Linked DNA regions of Homo sapiens: region 2 is linked to region 1. The links are contacts of gene promoters, found by promoter capture Hi-C in human tissues and cell types (Jung and others, 2019). All regions are on one chromosome and are shown on one strand. The core of a region is centred on a gene start or on the middle of the fragment in contact, and the rest is flanking DNA. Distances in the headings are between cores, read along the strand shown. Region 1 holds the start of SLC25A51 (solute carrier family 25 member 51). Region 2 has its middle 43 kb from the start of FAM201A.

What was found. The method cuts DNA at HindIII sites, captures the fragments that hold promoters and counts their contacts. A contact is called where the count stands out against the background at its distance.
Region 2: a contact is called between a fragment that was not itself captured here and the fragment with the promoter of SLC25A51 in region 1, in 1 of the 25 tissues and cell types used here (dorsolateral prefrontal cortex).

Annotation. Positions count from the first base shown.
Region 1 is chr9:37,902,397-37,905,583 of GRCh38, reverse strand. It overlaps SLC25A51 (solute carrier family 25 member 51), which reads left to right and starts at 1,457. Exons shown (of 3, transcript NM_033412.4): 1 at 1,457-1,516. It also overlaps the pseudogene PAICSP1. RefSeq lists a silencer at 1,257-2,016. The HindIII fragment of the contact is 6,842 bases long and covers 1-2,967 here.
Region 2 is chr9:38,662,795-38,665,981 of GRCh38, reverse strand. No RefSeq gene overlaps it. Among named protein-coding and RNA genes, the nearest start is that of FAM201A, 43 kb to the right of the region's middle. The HindIII fragment of the contact is 4,635 bases long and covers 1-3,187 here.

The DNA of each region.
Region 1 (3,187 bases), core at 208-2,707:
AGACAGGGCAAACATAATTTTGAGGCAAAGGCCCTTTCCAACTGTTGCCCGATTAACTGTTCTAAGCCATTGTGTAGCCTTGTCCTTATCCTGCGGAGTCCAAAATTTATCCCTCGCGTACTAATTAGATGGCAGGTGTCTGTGTCTGACAGTCAAGATTCGCATTATCCAGCCCCACCACCTGACCCTTACAATCTTATCTCCTGCTGCTATGACTTTCTCCACTGGGCCAAATTCCACTCATCCATCCTCCAAGGCCCAGTTCAAACGTCTGCTCTGTGAAGCCATCTCTGGTTCTCCCTCGAGGGGGGAGGTCCCCTCATGCTTCTGAATTTCCAGTCTTTTGTTGTTGTATCCTTCATCAGACGCTAAGCTCCCCAGGACCTGGCACGCAGTAGGTTCCTCAATGGAGCGTTTGCTGGAATGGGGGAGGGTGGTCTCCAGCTTCCCGAGAGGCACCTAAGCACGCCAGCCAAAGTGGGGCTGGGCAGAGACCAGACCCGCTTTTGGAGTCAGTGTCTACAAAGTGCTCTCGGGGGAAGGGGGCACGCGGGGAACGTCGCCCACCCGGAGCCGATCCCCCCAAGAACGCTTCACTCGGGTGGGGTTACTGCTTGGGCTCGCCCCAAGCACAGTGCGCACACTTCACACATCCGCAAGCCTCCTGAAACGCCTCTCCCCTCAGGCCGACCTTTCTGTTTCCTTCAACGCCTCCCATCTGTTGTGTGCGTTCCAGTTTCCAACTCAGAGTCAGAACCATCATTTCCAAAGACTCCTGCAACAGCCCGAGGACGCATACAAGGCATGGGTTACTTTTCAGACGGAGATTTGGGGCTCAGGGTCCAGCGACTCACCCAAGGTCACTCTCAAGAAGTATGAGGGCTATGACTTTGACCCAAGCCTTCTAACTCCCCGGGCAGCGCTCCTCCCAAGCCCCCCGCAAGCTGTCTGAGCTTCAAAGGAAAAAGTTTAAAAGTGATCCATACGTCCCAAAGCACGCACAAAGCGTTCTTCTGTAAACTGCGGCATGGGTCGCTGATAAAAGGTCCCTCTGAAGGTTTGAAGATACTCAACAAGGCTCCACAGAGGGTACTTTGGAGTTTTCCGCGAAGGCGCTCGCCCCGCAGAACCGACAAGGCCCCTAAAACCGACAATGCCCAGACGCCCCCTGCAGGCAGCGCGCTAGAGAACGCGTTGGCTGTTTCTGGCACGCTGAGGCCACCGTACGGCATCAAGGGTGAAGCATGGTGGCTAGCGGAGCCCGCATCCTGACAGGTGTGCTGGCGTGGCCCTCTACCTGCCCCGCCGCGGCGGCCTGCGGCCAGGAGAAGTAGGCTGGCGACATCTGGCGGGCCGCGGGCCGAGGGAGGGGAGGCGGGGCGGGGCGGTGTCTCCCTCACGTGACCCCAACAGCGCCCAGCGCGTCGCGCTGCGCCCCAACCTCGGGGTCGGTCACAGTCTGCGCCTGCGCGGGCCCCGGCTCGCTAGCCGTCCTGCGGGACGCCGGCGCTGATGGGTGAGTGTGGGACGAGCGTGGGGAAGCACCGGGCTTTCTTCGCATGAGGTTGGAGGGAGGGGAAACGCGCTGAAGGGCCCGCTGGGGCAGGCTGCCGCCCTGGGGGCCCATCCCTGTCTTCTGCGCGCTCCGGCTGCCCTGGCCCGGTCCCTGCGGGCCCCACCCAGGCGGCGCGGGCGGAATCAGTTCTGAGCCTCCTCGGCTCCGGGCTCCCCCGCCTGCCGCGGGTGTTTGTCCGGCTGCTGGGCGACCTTTCCCGCGAAGGCGCTGTCCCTTCATTCGGGCGCGCCCTGGGCTGGGGAGGCACCTCCCTGGTGCACAGGAACCGCAGGGGCGGGGAGGAGCCGGGAGCTGCCTGCGCCCGGGGGACAGCGGGGATGGCACCGCGCAAGGGCCTCTGCGTCCCGGGAGACTGGGATTTCGGCCTCACCTCGGGACCCCTGACTGTGAAGTGTCAGAAACGGAAGAGGACTTAGTGATCTTGTCCAACCCCCTCCCCGCCTTTCACAGGTTGGGGAAATGGACGCCTGGAGAACGGTAAGTTCAGCTACATAGCCTGGCAGTGCTTGTTCTGCGACAGCATATTGCATCGCGTTGTAGGAAGCTCACTTGTACAAGGATTTTCGGGGACGATGGTGTTGGTGGTGTTAGTCTCCATCCATTATTTGGTGTTCAGTTTAGCTAGATGGAGTATGTCAGCACCTCAACTTCCTGCAAAACCTTTGTTTTGCATCTCACAGCTCTACCTAGCTGATCTTAATTCCCACCTTCTGTTTTTCTCTACTTGTAATCTCTGAAACAGAAGCCCTTGAAATGTATAGTGACCTTGCCATTTTGAGCCGCCTCTGCCCGTGCTTTGAAAGGATTCCATAGGATCAAAAGGTGCTAGGACTCTTGAGGTCCCATAGTGGTTTAGAGCACAGGTTACCGCTTTGGAACTGGAATCACCCTTAGCGCATCTCAGGGGAAAACAAGCTAGGAGTTGACTCATCTGATCTCTCGTTTGGTAAATGAAAGCAAACTCAGATCAGTGGATTTTAAAATCAGATATTGCTTTGTCTTTATATTGGCAAGCTAGTGTCGTAACTAGGACTAGACCCAGGCTGATCTTGTTCTGAATGCTGACTCAGACCTGCTGACTAGTGGAAATTCACATCCTTTGAGAATTGGAGTCACCCTCTCCCCAGTTTTTGCAGAGACCTTTGTGCTAGGATCATATCTGTATCATGCTGATCCATGTAGGCTGTAAATTATAATAAGGTTTTAGACTTTACACTGTTTTCTTAGTCACAGAAGCTTGACACTTGTAGTTGCTTGAAAATCAAGTTCATTAACTGCTCCCTTATGATGAGATAGTTTTACGTAGCAAACAAGCGTAAAGTTATGGTAAATAAATTTTGCAATAAATTGCAAAGAATTATCCACATTAATGAATAAAAATATAAAGATCAGTTTAGCAAAGAAATTTAACCATGTTCACAGTATAGGTAAACATGCAAAAGTCTAAACTGTACTACCAAATAATGCTGTGCACATTATCCTTCTATTGCTAAATTAAGAACATATTCACACCATCCTGGTGTGTAGGATTAAACTAGAGAAAAAGCTTTAAATCTGTAAAGTCCAGGAGGGTTTCATAACATTTTTTCCCCCATCTAGGCCTATTTTTTA
Region 2 (3,187 bases), core at 298-2,797, 760 kb before region 1:
TTAGGCCTATGACCCATTTTGAGTTCAGTTTGTGAAGGGTGTAAGGTCTTTGTCTAGATCCTTTTTTTTTTCTTTTGCATGTGATGTCTAGTTGTTCCACCACCATTTGTTAAAAAGACTGTACCTTTGGGCCAGGTGCGGGATTACACCTGTAATCCCAGCACTTTGGGAGGCTAAGGCGTTGTGGATCACTTGAGGTCAGGAGCTCAAGACCAGCCTGGCCAACATGGTAAAACCCTGTCTCTACTAAAAATACAAAAATTAGCCAGACGTGGTGGTAGGCACCTGTAATTCCAGTTGCTTAGAAAGCTGAGTTAGGAGAATTGCTCAAACCCAGGAGGCAGAGGTTGTAGTAAGCTGAGATCGCATCATTGCACTCCAGCTGGGCAACAAGAGCAAAACTCCATCTCAAACAAAACAAAACAAAAACCAAAAACCAAAAAACAAAACTGTCCATTTATCCGTTGAACTGCATTTCTTCTTTGTCAAAAATCAGGTGACTGTACATTTACATAGGTCTATTTTGGGGCTCTCTATCCTCTTACATTGACTTATTTGTCTATTCTTTCACCAATACCAGACTCTTGATTGCTGTAACTTTAAAATAAGTCTTAAAGTTGGGTAATGTCATTCTTTCTTCTTCTTCAATATTCTATTGATCTATCCACAGATCTTTTGCCATTTCATGTAAACTTTAGAATCAGTATGTTGATATCCACAGAGTAATCGGCTGAGATTGTGACTAGAATTGCATTGAGTCGGCCGGGTGCGGTGGCTCACGCTTGTAATCCCAGCACTTTGGGAGGCCGAGGCGGGCAGATCATGAGGTCAGAAGATTGAGACCATCCTGGCTAACACGGTGAAACCCCGTCTCTACTAAAAATACAAAAAATTAGCCAGGCTTGGTGGCAGGCGCCTGTAGTCCCAGCTACTCGGGAGGCTGAGGCAGGAGAATGGCGTGAACCCGGGAGGCGGAGCTTGCAGTGAGCCGAGATCACACCACTGCACTCCAGCCTGGGAGACAGAGAGACTCCATCTCAAAAAAAAAAAAAAAAAAAAAAAACAAAAGAAAGAATTGCATTGAATCTATAGATTCCCAGATGGGAAAACTGACCTCCTGGCAATATTGAGTCTTCCTATCTACAAACATTAAACATCTCCCCATTTCTTTAGATTTGTTATTTCTTTCATCAGAGTTTTGTTGTTTTCCTTCATATAGATCTGATACCTGGTTTGTTAACATATACCTAAGTGTTTCACTTTTTTACTGCTAATGTAATTGGTGTTTTGCTTTTAATTTCAATTGTTTATTGCTGATATATAGGAAACCAACTGACTTTTGGATATTAATCCAAATTAAATTTGGTTTAAATTTCAACCAATTAAAGGTTTCGCATCCTGCAACCTGTCTTTAATGACGTATCAGTTCCAGGAGAATTTTTGTTTATTATTTGAGATTTTTCTACTGAATAATGTAGAATAATGTCATTTTAGACAAAGATAATTTTGGTTTTTTTTTTCCCAATCTGTATACCTTTTATTTCCTTCTCTTTTCACACTGTATTAACCAGGACTTCAGTATAATGCTGAATAGGAGTGATGAGAGGGGACATCCTGTCCTTATTCCCAATTTTAGAAAGAAAGCATTTAGTTTCTCACCATTAAGTATGATGTTAGCTGTAAACTTTTTGTAGATGTTCTTTATCAGTTTGAGCAGTTTTTCCTCTATTCTTAGTTCGCTAAGCGTTTTTAATATAAATGCGTGTTAGATTTTGTCAAATGTTTGTTCTGAATCTATTGATATGATCATTTGATCTGATTCTTCTTTAGCTTGTTGATGTGATAGATTGCACTAATTGTTTTTTGAATGTTGAGATTGCATACCTGACATACACCTCACTTGATTGTGGTGTATACACACATATTGTGTTTTTTATATACTATTGGATTCAATTTGCTAATATTTTGTTGAGGATTTTTGCATCTATGTTCATAAGAAATATTTGTCTAGAGTTTTCCTTTCTTGTAATATCTTTATCTGGTTTTGGTATTAGGGTAATGCTGGCCTCATAGAATGAGTTAGGAAGTATTCATTCTACTTTAATTTTCTGGAACAAATTATGAATAACTGATATCATTTATTCCTCAATTGTTTGGTATAATTCACCTTTGAACCCCTCTAAACTTGGTGCTTTCTGTTTTGGAAGTTTATTAATTATCAATTCGATTTCTGTAGTCCATATAGGCCCATTCAGATCATCTATTTCTCCTTATGTGACATCTAGTAGGTTCTGTCTTTCAATGAATTGGTTCTTTTCATCTAAGTTGTACAATTTATGGGCATAGAATTGTTCATAATATTCATTTATTGTCCATTTAACATCCATTTGATCAGAAATGATGATCCCTGTTTCATTTCTGGTATTAGTAATTGTGTCTTCTTTCTTTCTTCTTAGCCTGAATTGAGAAATTTTAAGATTATTTTCACATAAAAACATACATGAGCACATTTGCAAAGACATCCCTCAGTTGCTGCAGCGCCAGCTCCACCCTCAGTCTTTCCAGCAGCCTGCAGTTCTGCTCTTTTACAGGAAACTTGAGGAGTACCTAAACATCTGACTCTCTGCGTGTTACATTTCATCGCTCCTCTGAACTAGGGCACTGAGGGAAATTTTTCTACTGAAAGGTACCATCTTAATTTCTTTGCAAATTAGCATAGAAGAGAGAATCTTGCACTTCACACTAATGAGAACAGTGTGTGGTTTTGTGATTTGGGAACCTGGCAAGGCCACGCAAGCTTCTTGCTGAGCAGCAGTACCGCACTGCCTCCACCAACCCTTAACATCCCCAGCCTCGAAAGTCAAAATAAAAGTCAGAGTGGACAGGTGAGTATTGGGTGGAAGGATGAGAAGGGATAGGGGAATCCATCTAGCTCACTGCAGGATGATGAAACAGAGACACAGATTTGAGTGTTATTCAAGGTACCAGGAATTTGACTTATACTTGCTTCCTCTCCACAGAATACTGTGAATACACACAGAGCCTGGGCAGAAACGAGATGTTACACAACCTCCAAGATATTTCTACAAGTCGTCTCTCTTATCCATTCTTTCTTTTCATGCCAAAGATAAATCTGTGGCATAAACTTATATCAACAAGTATTTGAAGGAATTTAAATATCTATTAG